2 separate regions of the Homo sapiens genome follow, and region 1 is linked to region 2. Evidence: promoter capture Hi-C in 16 types of primary human blood cells and fetal thymus (Javierre and others, 2016). All regions are on one chromosome and are shown on one strand. The core of a region is centred on a gene start or on the middle of the fragment in contact, and the rest is flanking DNA. Distances in the headings are between cores, read along the strand shown. Region 1 overlaps TNKS (tankyrase). Region 2 holds the start of TNKS (tankyrase).

What was found. Contacts are between HindIII fragments. The CHiCAGO score rates a contact against its expected background, and 5 or more counts as called.
Region 1: a fragment that was not itself captured here is called in contact with the fragment with the promoter of TNKS in region 2 in 1 of 17 cell types (megakaryocytes); the score reaches 5.5 in megakaryocytes.

Annotation. Positions count from the first base shown.
Region 1 is chr8:9,664,716-9,671,538 of GRCh38, forward strand. All of the region lies in intron 3 of TNKS (tankyrase), which reads left to right. Among named protein-coding and RNA genes, the nearest start is that of MIR597, 74 kb to the right of the region's middle. The HindIII fragment of the contact is 188 bases long and covers 1,415-1,602 here.
Region 2 is chr8:9,552,637-9,558,743 of GRCh38, forward strand. TNKS (tankyrase) reads left to right here and starts at 3,276. Exons shown (of 27, transcript NM_003747.3): 1 at 3,276-3,976. The coding sequence starts at 3,304. RefSeq lists enhancers at 2,959-3,620, 3,621-4,280 and a silencer at 3,379-3,538. The HindIII fragment of the contact is 11,121 bases long and covers 634-6,107 here.

The sequences.
Region 1 (6,823 bases), core at 259-2,758, 110 kb after region 2:
GAAAATAAAAAACGCATGCATGTGTAATTTAAGTTCAATTTTATATAATTAACAAGTATACAACTGTTAATAAAAGTCACACGTTCATGACTCTAGAAGAGACCTTAAATTTAGAGGTTAGCTAATCTAACCTTTTACCCCATAAGGATTCCGTACTATATTACTACACGGCATTTCTATACCATATCCCTATGTGCTGTCTGCCATTAGTCCATTGTTGGGTAACTTAAATGGTTAGAAATACTTCTATGCATTAAGCCAAATATAGTAACTTCTTTTTGGAACTACATCGTATAAGGATGTTTTTCCTTTTGAGAGCCCTCTCTGAAATACTGACAATGCTAATCAAGACCTTTCCTATACTCACCACCTACTATCACTTCAAGCTTTTGTACTCTAGACTAAGTTTTCCTCCCCTCCTTTTTAAAATTCTGTTGACGTAAGTTTCCATTTGCTGTTTTGAAATTTGTTACATTGGTTTCCTTGAGCTTCCTGTCAAACTAGCTTCAAAATATTTTTACTGGGGCTAGTCTGGAGTCAGTTTTTAGTCTTTCTTCACTTACATATTTGAACAGTTGACTGTTTTTGAGGGGAGAAGGGCTCTAATAGCAGGACATTGCCTTTATCCTGATTAAATGTTCTTGTCAATCATGTGATGCTCTTCAGCAGTTGCCAGGGAGTCATCATTCTGAAAACCAGATTTACTTTTTCTGTTTTTTATTCGTATTTCCACTTCTTTTAAGTTAGCAGGAAGAAATGCTGAATTCACCAATGCCTTTGGTCCCTTGTCCAGGACTTCAGAGTCACTAGAAATGGTCTGTATTTCTTATGGTAAAGTTGTGCATCTCTACAAGATTCCATAAAAGGGATTAGTAGTGTGTTTGACCTGTTGTCTTAAGCATACTCTCAGTCATCTCTTGGCATATACATGTGAATGAGGTAGCCTCATAATAACCTTGTGCTGCCTTTTCAGGAGTCACTGTTAACCTCTACTGGTCTCTTTCTCTGGATACTGGAGCATGGTGCAAGGATTCTTCAACTCTCATGAATTCACTCTCGTGAATTCCCATTATTATTGCATGCACCTTTACAAGCCCTAGAGTAACTACTAAGAAAGGCCTCATGTTGCCTTATGAGTCTCTAAGCCTCCTCAGAGTCTACGCACCTCAAGAATATTTTTATTGGATCCTTTTCCCCTCCCTAACCTCATTCCTACCTCTCTTTTTACTACTCTTCTCTCTTCTTCCTCCCCTCCTCTTTTTTTCTCTCTGTCCTCCAAATAAATGTGCAAAGTCATGCTCTGAAACTGAAGTTCCTTGTACCTAGGAGAATCCTCATCTTACTCAGCGCAAATTTGCTCCTACTGTAGTAACAGCTTTTGCTGCTGACTGATTACAACCGTTTTACTGTTGTAAGCTTCCAGCTCATGATGGTTTTAGATGTGCACTGTCCAGCACAAAGCCACTCGTCACAGCTGGCTGCTGAACACGCTGCCACACGTTGAAATGGTAATATTGTGGATATAGTAGGGTAAATAAAACGTGCTATTAAAACTCATGTCTTTTTTAAACATTGCTACTGGAAGTTTACAATTACATAGGAAGCTTATATTTCTACTGGACAGCACTTTTCAAACATTCTAAACTAAAAGGAAATATATAAAGAGATTAATTTATGCAAAGGAAAAGAGAGAAATAAATTACGTATTAAAAAGTAAAATATGGCTGGGTGTGGTAGCTCACGCCTGTAATCCCCGCACTTTGGGAGGCCAAGGCTGGCAGATCACTTGAGGCCAGGAGTTCGAGACCAGCCTGGCCAACATGGTGAAACCCCGTCTCTACTAAAAATACAAAAATTAGCTGGCTGTGGTGGCTCACGCCTGTAGTCCCAGCTACTCGAGAGGATGAGGCACAAGAATTGCTTGAAACCCAGGAGGCAGAGTTTGCAGTGAGCCAAGATGGTTGCATTGCGCTCCAGCCTGGGCGACAGAGTGAGACTCTATCTAAAAAAAAAAAAAAAAGTAAAATACATAGCAATCTTGAACCGTTTTGAGTAAGTACAAATGTCCCTGCACATCTCAGTAGTCCAGAGAGCATTGCTATATTATTCCAAAGGCTGGTGGAGGTTCATAATAATTGGCCCTGAATTGTCAAGAAGAGTAAAATTATGTTTGGAGTGATCTGTTTTTCAGTGTATAGAGGTATGTAATATATTTCATAAAGAAATTCTATCAAGAAAAGAGAAATTAAAATGCTAAATTAGCAGTTATGTTAAAAACTTGGCTATCTGGAATGATTTAGTTCTTGAGTGTTCCGATTTTTATGGTAGCAGTATTCTAATAAGACAAAGTGATAATTTTTATATGAGGGTAGTTGATAAATTTATGGGAGGAACATAAGTCATTCAACAAATAGAAACGACAGAATACTCAAAAACACTTTCTTCAGAGATTCTTCTTAATATTTGTATTATTTTTATGTGAAGTATTTATATTGAAATAATTATTTCAGAAAGAACTCATTTTTGTTTAAACCAGTATGCCAATATGATCTCTTCATTTAAGAAACTGCTGTATATGTAGTAGCTGCAATCTCAGAACTCTCAGGATATATGAACAAAGCGTATTGTGATTTATAGGAACCAGGCCATTGTCTGTGAAAAGAAAATTACTTTCCTACAGCCCTTGCTCTTATCGGGATGCTTGGCCCCTGGATGCGTAAGCCTACTGAGGGCTGAAGTTTTGGGAGTCGCCTATTCAGGGATTGCCTGACCTCTGCATCTTATAACCATATCATCCTGAGGAATTGCAGACTGATGTGGAGGCATGTGACTGCTTTTTGAATGATGTCAGAACTGTCTTGTCTTTGTTGTGATTATTGTGTATGATTGCATTTTATCCTTCATAGTCTGTCATTGATTTACAAAACGTCTCAGAAAGATGTAGTGAGTGCAATTATGGTTTCCTCAAGAAGCACCAATTGTGATTTACTTCTTCAGCTGCACACACTTCAGTTATTTTTTTCTTATATTTTCCCAAAAGTATCACTAAATCTCTTACTGTGTTAGATTTCATTGACTTTAGTGAAGTCTGATTAATATCCTTTCTCATTTAAGCCCTTCTGGGTTTTTTTTTTTTTTTTTGAGTCTCATTCATTTACTAGTTCTCTTTGAATCACGTCATTTATTTTTTCATTTAACAAATATACAGGCACTGTTTACAATATGCCAAGCACAATACAGCACTGATACAGATAACAGAAATCTTGAATTGTTGGAGAAAGTGATGGAGTTTAGAGCTAGCATGCTAGCAGTGGCACCAAACCTGCAGCAACTTGTTCATTTAGTAGACTGCAGGGCCCAGCTGTTGCTGATGAAAGTAATCACCCGTGTGAACATTATCTGTCAGGTGTGTTGAGGAAAAATCATTCGGAATCATTTCTAAGAAATAACAGCGCCAAGCACTATATTCTTAAAGCTTTCGGAGATTTACCATTGGTATGTAAGGGCTGTTTGTATCAGTTTATGTCTGTGTAAATAAAAGATTTAGATCAGAGAAATGATGGTTCCTAACCTTTTTTGGGTCATGGACCACTTTAAGGAGCTAATAAAAGCACCTTTAGATCCACTCCTTAGGGAGAAAATACATTGCACATTTGAACATACACTCAAATTTTGCCTCTAGTTGTCAAGTATTTACAGAATTTTTGAATTCCATGAAATTACCAGAGGTTAAGAACTTCTGATGTACACATAATGGTTAGAAATATAATCTTAGAACAGGCTTGACAAGATAAACTAGTTTGATATCCTTATGATTAAGACTCAGAATAAGCAAATAACTTGCCTAAAATTTTAAAACTGTAGTGTCAAAGCTAGGACTGGAATCTGTGCCCTTTGACAGTGTTTTTAACTGAAATGGTGTGGAGTGATTTCATGAAGGAAGTTATGTGTAAGTTTGGCCATATGTTTGTGGCAAGATTTTAACAAGTGCAAATGATTGGAGCTTAGATCATTGTCAACATGAGCAAAGACATTCAGGAAAATGCAAGGTGTATTTGGGTAAAAGTGAGTGATGTAGAGTTGATAGTGTGTGTTGAGAAGGTAAGGTGGAATAGGGAACAGTGAATAATAAATTGAATAAATTTAGTCTATATTTTTAAAGGATTTTGACTATTCAGCTGTAGGGTTGAACACCATTTTGTAAGACAGGTATGGGGACTCATACATTTATACTATTTTGATTATTATTATTATTATTGAATAGGAGAATAAACTAATTAAAGCAGAAATTAATGTAACTGAATTAAGGGCTAGAGACAAGGGATTAAGGAGTAATTTAGGGATTAGCTACAGGACTGTTATAGGAGGTGGGTGAAAGAAAAAGTACATAAATAAATTGTAGCAATAAGAATGGAAAAAAGGGCCGGGCGCGGTGGCTCACGCCTGTAATCCCAGCACTTTGGGAGGCCGAGGCGGGTGGATCATGAGGTCAGGAGATCGAGACCATCCTGGCTAACAAGGTGAAACCCCGTCTCTACTAAAAATACAAAAAATTAGCCGGGCGCGGTGGCGGGCGCCTGTAGTCCCAGCTACTCGGGAGGCTGAGGCAGGAGAATGGCGTGAACCCGGGAAGCGGAGCTTGCAGTGAGCCGAGATTGCGCCACTGCAGTCCGCAGTCCGGCCTGCGCGACAGAGCGAGACTCCGCCTCAAAAAAAAAAAAAAAAAAAAGAATGGAAAAAAGAAAGTAGGGACAAGGCATTGTATGGATTATAATGTAGCAGAATCTGTATTTTAATGTGTTAGGTTAATGTGTAACTAGGGATATCATGTTACATATCTGTAAATGAGTGGTAAAAGTAAAAATATTTACATTTATATTTAGATTAATACTTTGTCCAATAATCTTTCTGAACATAGTTATAGCAGAAGTCACAATTGATTCAGCTTGGACTTAATGGATATATTACCACGGATTCAGACTTCACATATAGAGAAATGCTCATTAATTTGGAATAACCTAATTAAATAATGTAGTTCATTTAGTAATCTAGTGGCTAAAATTTAACAGTCTTTACTTCTTATATAGCCAGTTTCAAGAGGGTTCGCAATTTGGTCAGGAAGAGTTTCAGACGTTTTAAAGAAAATATTATCCAAGGAAAGCAATTTTGCTAAATATTATATCTAAAAGGCTATAAAAAGGGCTATTGAGATATAATGTCTAGAAAACCAGTTTGCTTTTTCTCCTAAGCGTAATATTAGCTTCAAAAAAAGTGACTCAGTGCAGTTGAACATTCACTTACTAAACATAATTAACCGTCTCTTATTATAAAGTTAATACTATGGGCTATTGTGATGTCATGATTGCTTTTGGTTTTAACTTGCTTCATTTTACCTTGATCTCCTTTCCACATTTCGTTCAGTTGAAAAGGAGATGTATGAAAATGTTTATTATGATTTCAGAAAAATATGGAGGACACTTTGTAAGTTGAGGAAATGAAGAAGGCATGTTAGTGGTTTTTTCAAAAGTTAGTTTGTGGTATTTTGCATTAGAAAGTTGTTTCAAGTCTGTCTAAATATAAGTCAGGAGAACATTTTTATTCGAAGTAGCAGGAGAAATGGAAGGTGGAGATGTTCAAATTTAGGTCATCTTAAAATTATCTTATTGGGAAACCATTCGCCTGTATGTAGAGGGCATGAAGCCACATATCAGCTGTTTATATTAATTTTCTTATCTGAATATATTTAATCCCATCCCTAATGTCAGCTTTATTGTGTAGTTTCTTCTTATTTTAAATACCTAGTAAAATAGAGTATCAACATTTCTACCTAAAACAATGTTATATTAATGAAATTGGAGTCATTCCTCCTCTTTTGGGTGTGCTGGTATAAACTTGTCTGCCTAGTTACCACTTCTTAGAGGGTAGATTTTAGATATATATAATTTTCAGTTGGTGGTGTTAGCTTTTGTTAGGTGAGAACTCAGAACTAACTTGTTCCTCTTGCTTTTTAGAAAGCTGCTTGGATTAACTTGTGATAAACATCAGACTTCATGCATACAAAGCCTTGCTATGATGTAAGACACTGATGGTAATAGTTTTTCCAGGGTTAGTTTTTAGTTTATGTGTTATCCAGAACTTTATTGTAGAATTTGTCCATAATAAATGTTTACCATCATTTCTAAATATATATGGAATGCCTATTACCCTGAACCTAAGATAGAAAATGCTGGTTTTTTGTTTTGTTTTGTTTTGTTTTTAATGCAGATAACAAGTGAGAAGGAAAGAGTTAAAAGATGTGCAAATTAGTTCAGGCCAGATGAATTGCCCCTATATGAGGCAAGGTTGGTATCTGCAGTGGTGAAATTGTGGCAGTGCCATCATAGTTCTCAGTAGTTAACTTTTTCTCTTTTTTTTCTTTTCTTTTCTATAGGTGACATGAGAATTTTTCAGATTTCAAAAAAGACATGGTTTGGCTATTTCTTAACAAGGTTAAACAGATACTTATGATATAACCCAGCAACCCCACTGCTAGATATTTACCCAAGAAAAATGAAGTTATTTGTCCATACAAAAATACTCTCTGTAAATGTTGCCAGTAGCTTTCTTCATAATCACCCAAAGACATTTGGTAACAACCCAAATGTCTGGCAGCTGGTGATTGGATAAACAAATTGAGATACATCCATATAATGGAATATAACTTAACAATAAGAAGGATCAAAGTACCGATATGTCCAACAACATGGACGAAACTTAAAAGCATTTATACTAAGTAAAAGATACTAGAATCAGAAGTTTATATATTCTGTGATTCCATTTACAT
Region 2 (6,107 bases), core at 2,026-4,525:
CTATGTGCTCCCATTTTTGTAGTACTTGGGTATACTTTGTGTGTGTGTGTGTGTGTGTGTGTGTGTGTAGACAGGGTCTCACTTTGTTGCCCAGGCTGATCTTTGATCTTGATTTTTTGGGATCAAGCATTCTCCTGCCTCAGCTTCCCAAAATGCTGGGATTATAAGTGTGAGCCACTGTACTCGGCCAGGATATTGTTTTTGTGAAAACGCTTATGAAAATAAGATACTACACACCTGTGATCAACAATAGTTTAGAGACAGAGTTTATAAAGAATCCTGAATTATCAGATAAGGAAAGAATTAAACCTAATGTTTCTTTGCTTTAGATTCCCATTCTGTGTAAAACGATGGATATTTATTCCCAGCCCCTATCTTTGTCACAAAGGAAGTTGCGAGGGGAAAGCTATCAATAGTGGCTGTGAGTTCATGTTAACACTTTATGCATGCCATGTAAGAGAACGGATCTAACATTCAAAGAGTGCTTAAAAAACACCTAGGCTTTTAATCCTCATGACAGTGCTAAACTAAGGTCAACATTTTAGGCTGAGAGAGCTGAAGCATACCTATCAAGATTAGCCAACTAGTAATCATCAGAGATGTGACTTTCAAGCCCAGGTTTGTTTGACCCCAAGCTTTGCTCTTTCCACTATGATATAGTGCATTCCTCCTGGAATTGTGTTTAGCCACAGAAGATTAGGTAATAGCATGTGTCCTTTCATGTTTGGAGCTCAACATTAGTCGGTATAAACCCAAACTTCATAAATACTTAATGTTAAGTACTTTTCCTACTTTCTGCTCGAGGGGAAGAAAGCAATTTCCAGTTGATTGAATGCATTTCCAGACATGGTTTTCCAGTCCAGTTTCAGGCAATTTAGTTTTTTGTTTTTTGTTTGTTTGTTTGTTTTGCTGAGACAATGTTGCTCTGCCACCCAGGCTGGAGTGCAGTGGCACGATTTCGGCTCACTGCAACCTCTGCCTCCTGGGTTCAAGCCATCCTCCTGCCTCAGCCTCCGCAGTAGCTGGGATTACAGGCGCGCACCACCACGCCCAACTAATTTTTGTATTTTTAGTAGAGATGGGGTTTCCTCATGTTGGCCAGGCTGGTCTGGAACTCCTGACCTCGTGATCTGCCCACCTTGGCCTCCCAAAGTGCTGGGATTACAGGTGTGAGCTACTGGGCCTGGCCGGCAATTTAGTTTTTAAAAATCTCTGTCCAGCAGAGACTTCCTTATTTTATTGTTATTATTATTTTTTGTACTGATAGACACAACAGATGCATTTTGAATAAGTCTGAACATCACTACTTTCTATGAGTAACTGACCACTGGGAGACCAGATGAGATATTTCTTATGCCTCCCATTCCAGGAGGCCATTATTTAGGGGACACATGGTGTGTTATGGATATCTAACATATCATGTTGGATCACTCCCACTTCTCAATGGTTCTCTGCTGTACATCAAGAAGTTAAGATTAAAAAACAGAAGCATGAAGAAGAATGTTGTGGACTGATTTTAGTTGCACTGATGTGAGTTTTCCTATCCAGCTACACTTTTTGTCCGGTGTCTACTGCGAACAATGGCACATTTCATCACACAGCTGGATAATGTTAAGAATTATAATCTGTAACCCCAGATTAGATGAAAATAAATGCCACTCGTAATACTAATTATGTTCCTGACCTTATTGTATTTACTTACTAACCCCAAATAAACTCATCTATTTACTTAAATGGGAATATTAACATCACATAAATCATATTTAACAATGAACACATGAAACAATTTATCACCTAGTTTAATATTCTGCTTGACTCATCTAAATCTTGTTTCTCTTACAGAATTTCCATCTGTGTCCACTCTATTGGAATAATGCTGTTTCTGTATACTTCTACAATGCCTGCTTTACTATTGAACAGTAGGTATGAAATGGAGTCCTCAATGGGATTATCTCATTCATGGATACATCTTTTGATAGTAGAAAAACAAAAGTATACATAGGTTGGGGGAAAGACAGAAAAAGCAGTTGCTGAAAAATAGCACCTGATGGTGAGTAATGGACAGCAATCAGGTTTTTGTTATGTTTTCTTGTTGTTTTTGTGACAGGGTCTCCGCCCTCTGTCACCCAGGCTGGAGTGCAGTGGTGTGACCTCGGCTCACAGCAACCTCTGCCTCCCGGGCTCAAGTGATCCTCCCAACAGACTCCTGAGTAGCTGGGACTACACGCATGTGCCACTTTGCCCAGCTAATCTGTGTATTTTTTGTAGAGATGGAGCTTCGCCGTGATGGCCAGGCTGATCTTGAACTCCCGGGCTCAAGTGGCCCGCCGGCCTCGGCCTCCCAAAGTGCTAGGATTACAGGCATGAGCCACCGTGACCAGCCTAGCAATCAGGTTTTTATCTGTTTCGGGTGTGGGAGAGGCTAAGCTAAGCCAGAATTCAAAAGAAAGGAATATATTCATAATTAGTTACACTTAGGGTGAAAAATAAAATTTCAGAGAGAGCAGAATAGGAAAAAAAAATCATAATTTTAATAATTCACACTTATTGCACTATTGTTATTTCAATTTTACAGAGAAAAACAGGCATAGAGTGATGAAATAGCAAGTACATATATAAACAACAAATGGCAGAGCTGGAACGCCAATCCTAGCAATCTGAACCAGCATTTAAAAACGAGGAATTAAAGCACATAGGGTGAGAAAAATTATAGGGAAGGGACAAGAGCTCAAGGGGACACCTGGAAAAGAAATACTATAATTTAAAAAATTACCAACGGGCTAATTATACTTGTGTTTTACTGGCAGAGCGCTTTGTCTGTTAGCTCTTTTAATCCCGCTAATAATTCTGTGAGGTTGGTACTATAAGTTCCATTTTTCAGACAAGGACGCTTAATAGATGATAACGGACACATTCCCTGCTTGCTCTGATCTGCATCTCAACAGCTGGCTCTGGAGCAAGCAAAGGGAGACTAAGGGAAACAGAGCGGAGCAGGGCAAAGAAAGCCGACTGAAAGTGAGAAATGCAGGAAATGTTTCCCATCTAGGCAGAAGCTGGTTCCAGCATTCAAATCTCTCCAGCCGGCCCGCCACCACGTCACAAAGCCCGCCTCTCAGTGACAAAGCCCCGCCCCGTTCCCTTGGCTGTTCTCTGAGCTCCCAATACTTCCCTCCTTCTCTTTGGCCCCTGCTACCCCGCCTAGCATCATTTCCTGTGCGCTGGATGCTGATTGGTCCGACAGTCGGAAGTGAGGGCGGGCGGTGGGGGCCGTTGCCGCAGTGACAGTGCTAGGGGAGTCCGAAGATGGCGGCGTCGCGTCGCTCTCAGCATCATCACCACCATCATCAACAACAGCTCCAGCCCGCCCCAGGGGCTTCAGCGCCGCCGCCGCCACCTCCTCCCCCACTCAGCCCTGGCCTGGCCCCGGGGACCACCCCAGCCTCTCCCACGGCCAGCGGCCTGGCCCCCTTCGCCTCCCCGCGGCACGGCCTAGCGCTGCCGGAGGGGGATGGCAGTCGGGATCCGCCCGACAGGCCCCGATCCCCGGACCCGGTTGACGGTACCAGCTGTTGCAGTACCACCAGCACAATCTGTACCGTCGCCGCCGCTCCCGTGGTCCCAGCGGTTTCTACTTCATCTGCCGCTGGGGTCGCTCCCAACCCAGCCGGCAGTGGCAGTAACAATTCACCGTCGTCCTCTTCTTCCCCGACTTCTTCCTCATCTTCCTCTCCATCCTCCCCTGGATCGAGCTTGGCGGAGAGCCCCGAGGCGGCCGGAGTTAGCAGCACAGCACCACTGGGGCCTGGGGCAGCAGGACCTGGGACAGGGGTCCCAGCAGTGAGCGGGGCCCTACGGGAACTGCTGGAGGCCTGTCGCAATGGGGACGTGTCCCGGGTAAAGAGGCTGGTGGACGCGGCAAACGTAAATGCAAAGGACATGGCCGGCCGGAAGTCTTCTCCCCTGCACTTCGCTGCAGGTCAGAGACTTTTGAATTGTTTATTAAGGGTTATGGGTTTGGGTGCAGGGTCCGGTTAGGACAAGAAAACAGGTTATTGTGATGGGACAAAGTGGGGGCGTGGTTATGGTTCTTCATCACCTCACCAGAAGACTGGAGGTTCCTTTCTTTTGGTGGTGCCTGGGTGATGGGGGCGTGGTTGGGGGGGATAAGTGAATCCAAGGAATTCTTCAGTGGTTGCACAGTACTCATTACAAAACTCACTGTAGTTGGTAGTCTCTGCATATGGATATATTTACACTTTAGTTTTTGGTGTGCAGGAATACAGTTAGATTTGGACAGCTTTAGAGTAGTTTTGTCGTTTGTGTGCTAGTTTATTTTGTTTTTACAAGGGTATGTCCTTTGAGGACAGTCCAGACCAAAAGAGGTTTAATACAACCCAACACATGTTTGAGGATCTATTGTAGCCTTAATAACCCAATGAAAGACATAAATGAAGTGTTTGAAAGTTTCCCTTCTTCTAAAGAAGTTTGCAGTCTAGACGGGGAGACCAAAATATGCCAATGTGAAACAACTGGAGAAGAATATTTGGATGCATTATATGATGATGGAAGAAATATAGGCTTTGATGTTGTGGCCACTATTATTTGTTGTCTAGCAGACCATTTACCTCGTGTCAGTTGCCTCAGTTTTCTCATGGGCAAAAATCATAAAATGATGTTGTGCGAGCATTTGGTGAGAAGTATCTGGCACAAAGTTCTCCCTCAAAAAGTGTGAATTTCTTAAGCTCTGGACCCCACACTTGTCTTTTTTTTTTTTTTTGCAAGTAGTTGATGATTTTCTCTCAAAGACACCTAATAATATGTTTATAAAATAAAGAGAACTGTAAAATAAAAACAAAGGACCATAATCTCACTGCCTGGATACCTATTGTTGATATTTTAAAAATGTAGGTAATAATGTTTTATACATTAGAAACATTATATTGGAAATACATATATTGTACGTTATACAATTCAAATAGGACAGAAAAATACAAAATGAAAGGCATCACACAGAAACATCAGAGATAACACACCAGAGATAACTTCTGTTAAGTTTCTCCTATATTTCTAATATATATATATATCACTTCTTCAGTTTGTTCTGTTAACAGTAAAACATGTGTTGACCCACTGTAGTATTTATTTTTACCACACTTGGGAGATATGATTAACCATTTTACAGATGACAAAAGTGAAGCATATATCGATCGCTTAAATAAGTCCAAATTCAGTCAGGAAATAGTGGAAATTGAGTTTGAATTCAGGCAGTTTGATTTTAGAGCTTGTGAAATCAAACTTAAACTGTCAGAACCCTGGATTAAGGTCACTTTTCATTTTTGTGAGTAATTGAAGTGTAGAGTTCCCAATTTTTGGGAGAAGTAGTAATGCGGAGGGGCTTATATGCAAGAGAGTAGCTTTCACATGTTTTTTATTGTAGCCCATACTTAGAAATACATTTTACATTGTCACATACGCAACTGAATCAAAAGTTTCTGGAAACAATACTTTCCCTTAATACATGTGTTGTCCTCTGATATTTTATATTTTATTCTGTTTCATTTTTAGCAAATGCTGCTTGTGATCCATTAATGGGTCGTGACCAGTGGTATGAGAAACACTTAAAGGAAATCATTGTTAGGTCACTGGATTCATTATTGATATACAGACACTACTTATTAGGAATGCAGTGAATTGAATCAGAAACAGACTTTTGCCTATTTGTTTGCTCAAGGGTCTTGCTTGTTTTAGATGAAATAGCATTTCTTTTTCCTTAGGCTAAATGAAAGGCCTAAGTCTGATTTTATTAATCAACAGAGGTGTCTACTTTTGCATACTTTATTCCAAGTTTGCCTATTTTAACAAATTGCGTCACAAATCATGTCATTTCTCACCATCCCACTTTATGCGTAATCACCAATAAATGATAGTTATATTTATGTGTATTAATGTATTTAGGATAAGTCACACAAAATAGTGCTTGTTTCTCAAATCACGTGTCTTCTATTTGCCACAATAGTTACTTGTTATTCTGTTTCAGAGTTTTATGTATATCCAGATAAGCTAGAAGATAAACAATCAAACAGTACCGTAATTATGTTGTAGTTATG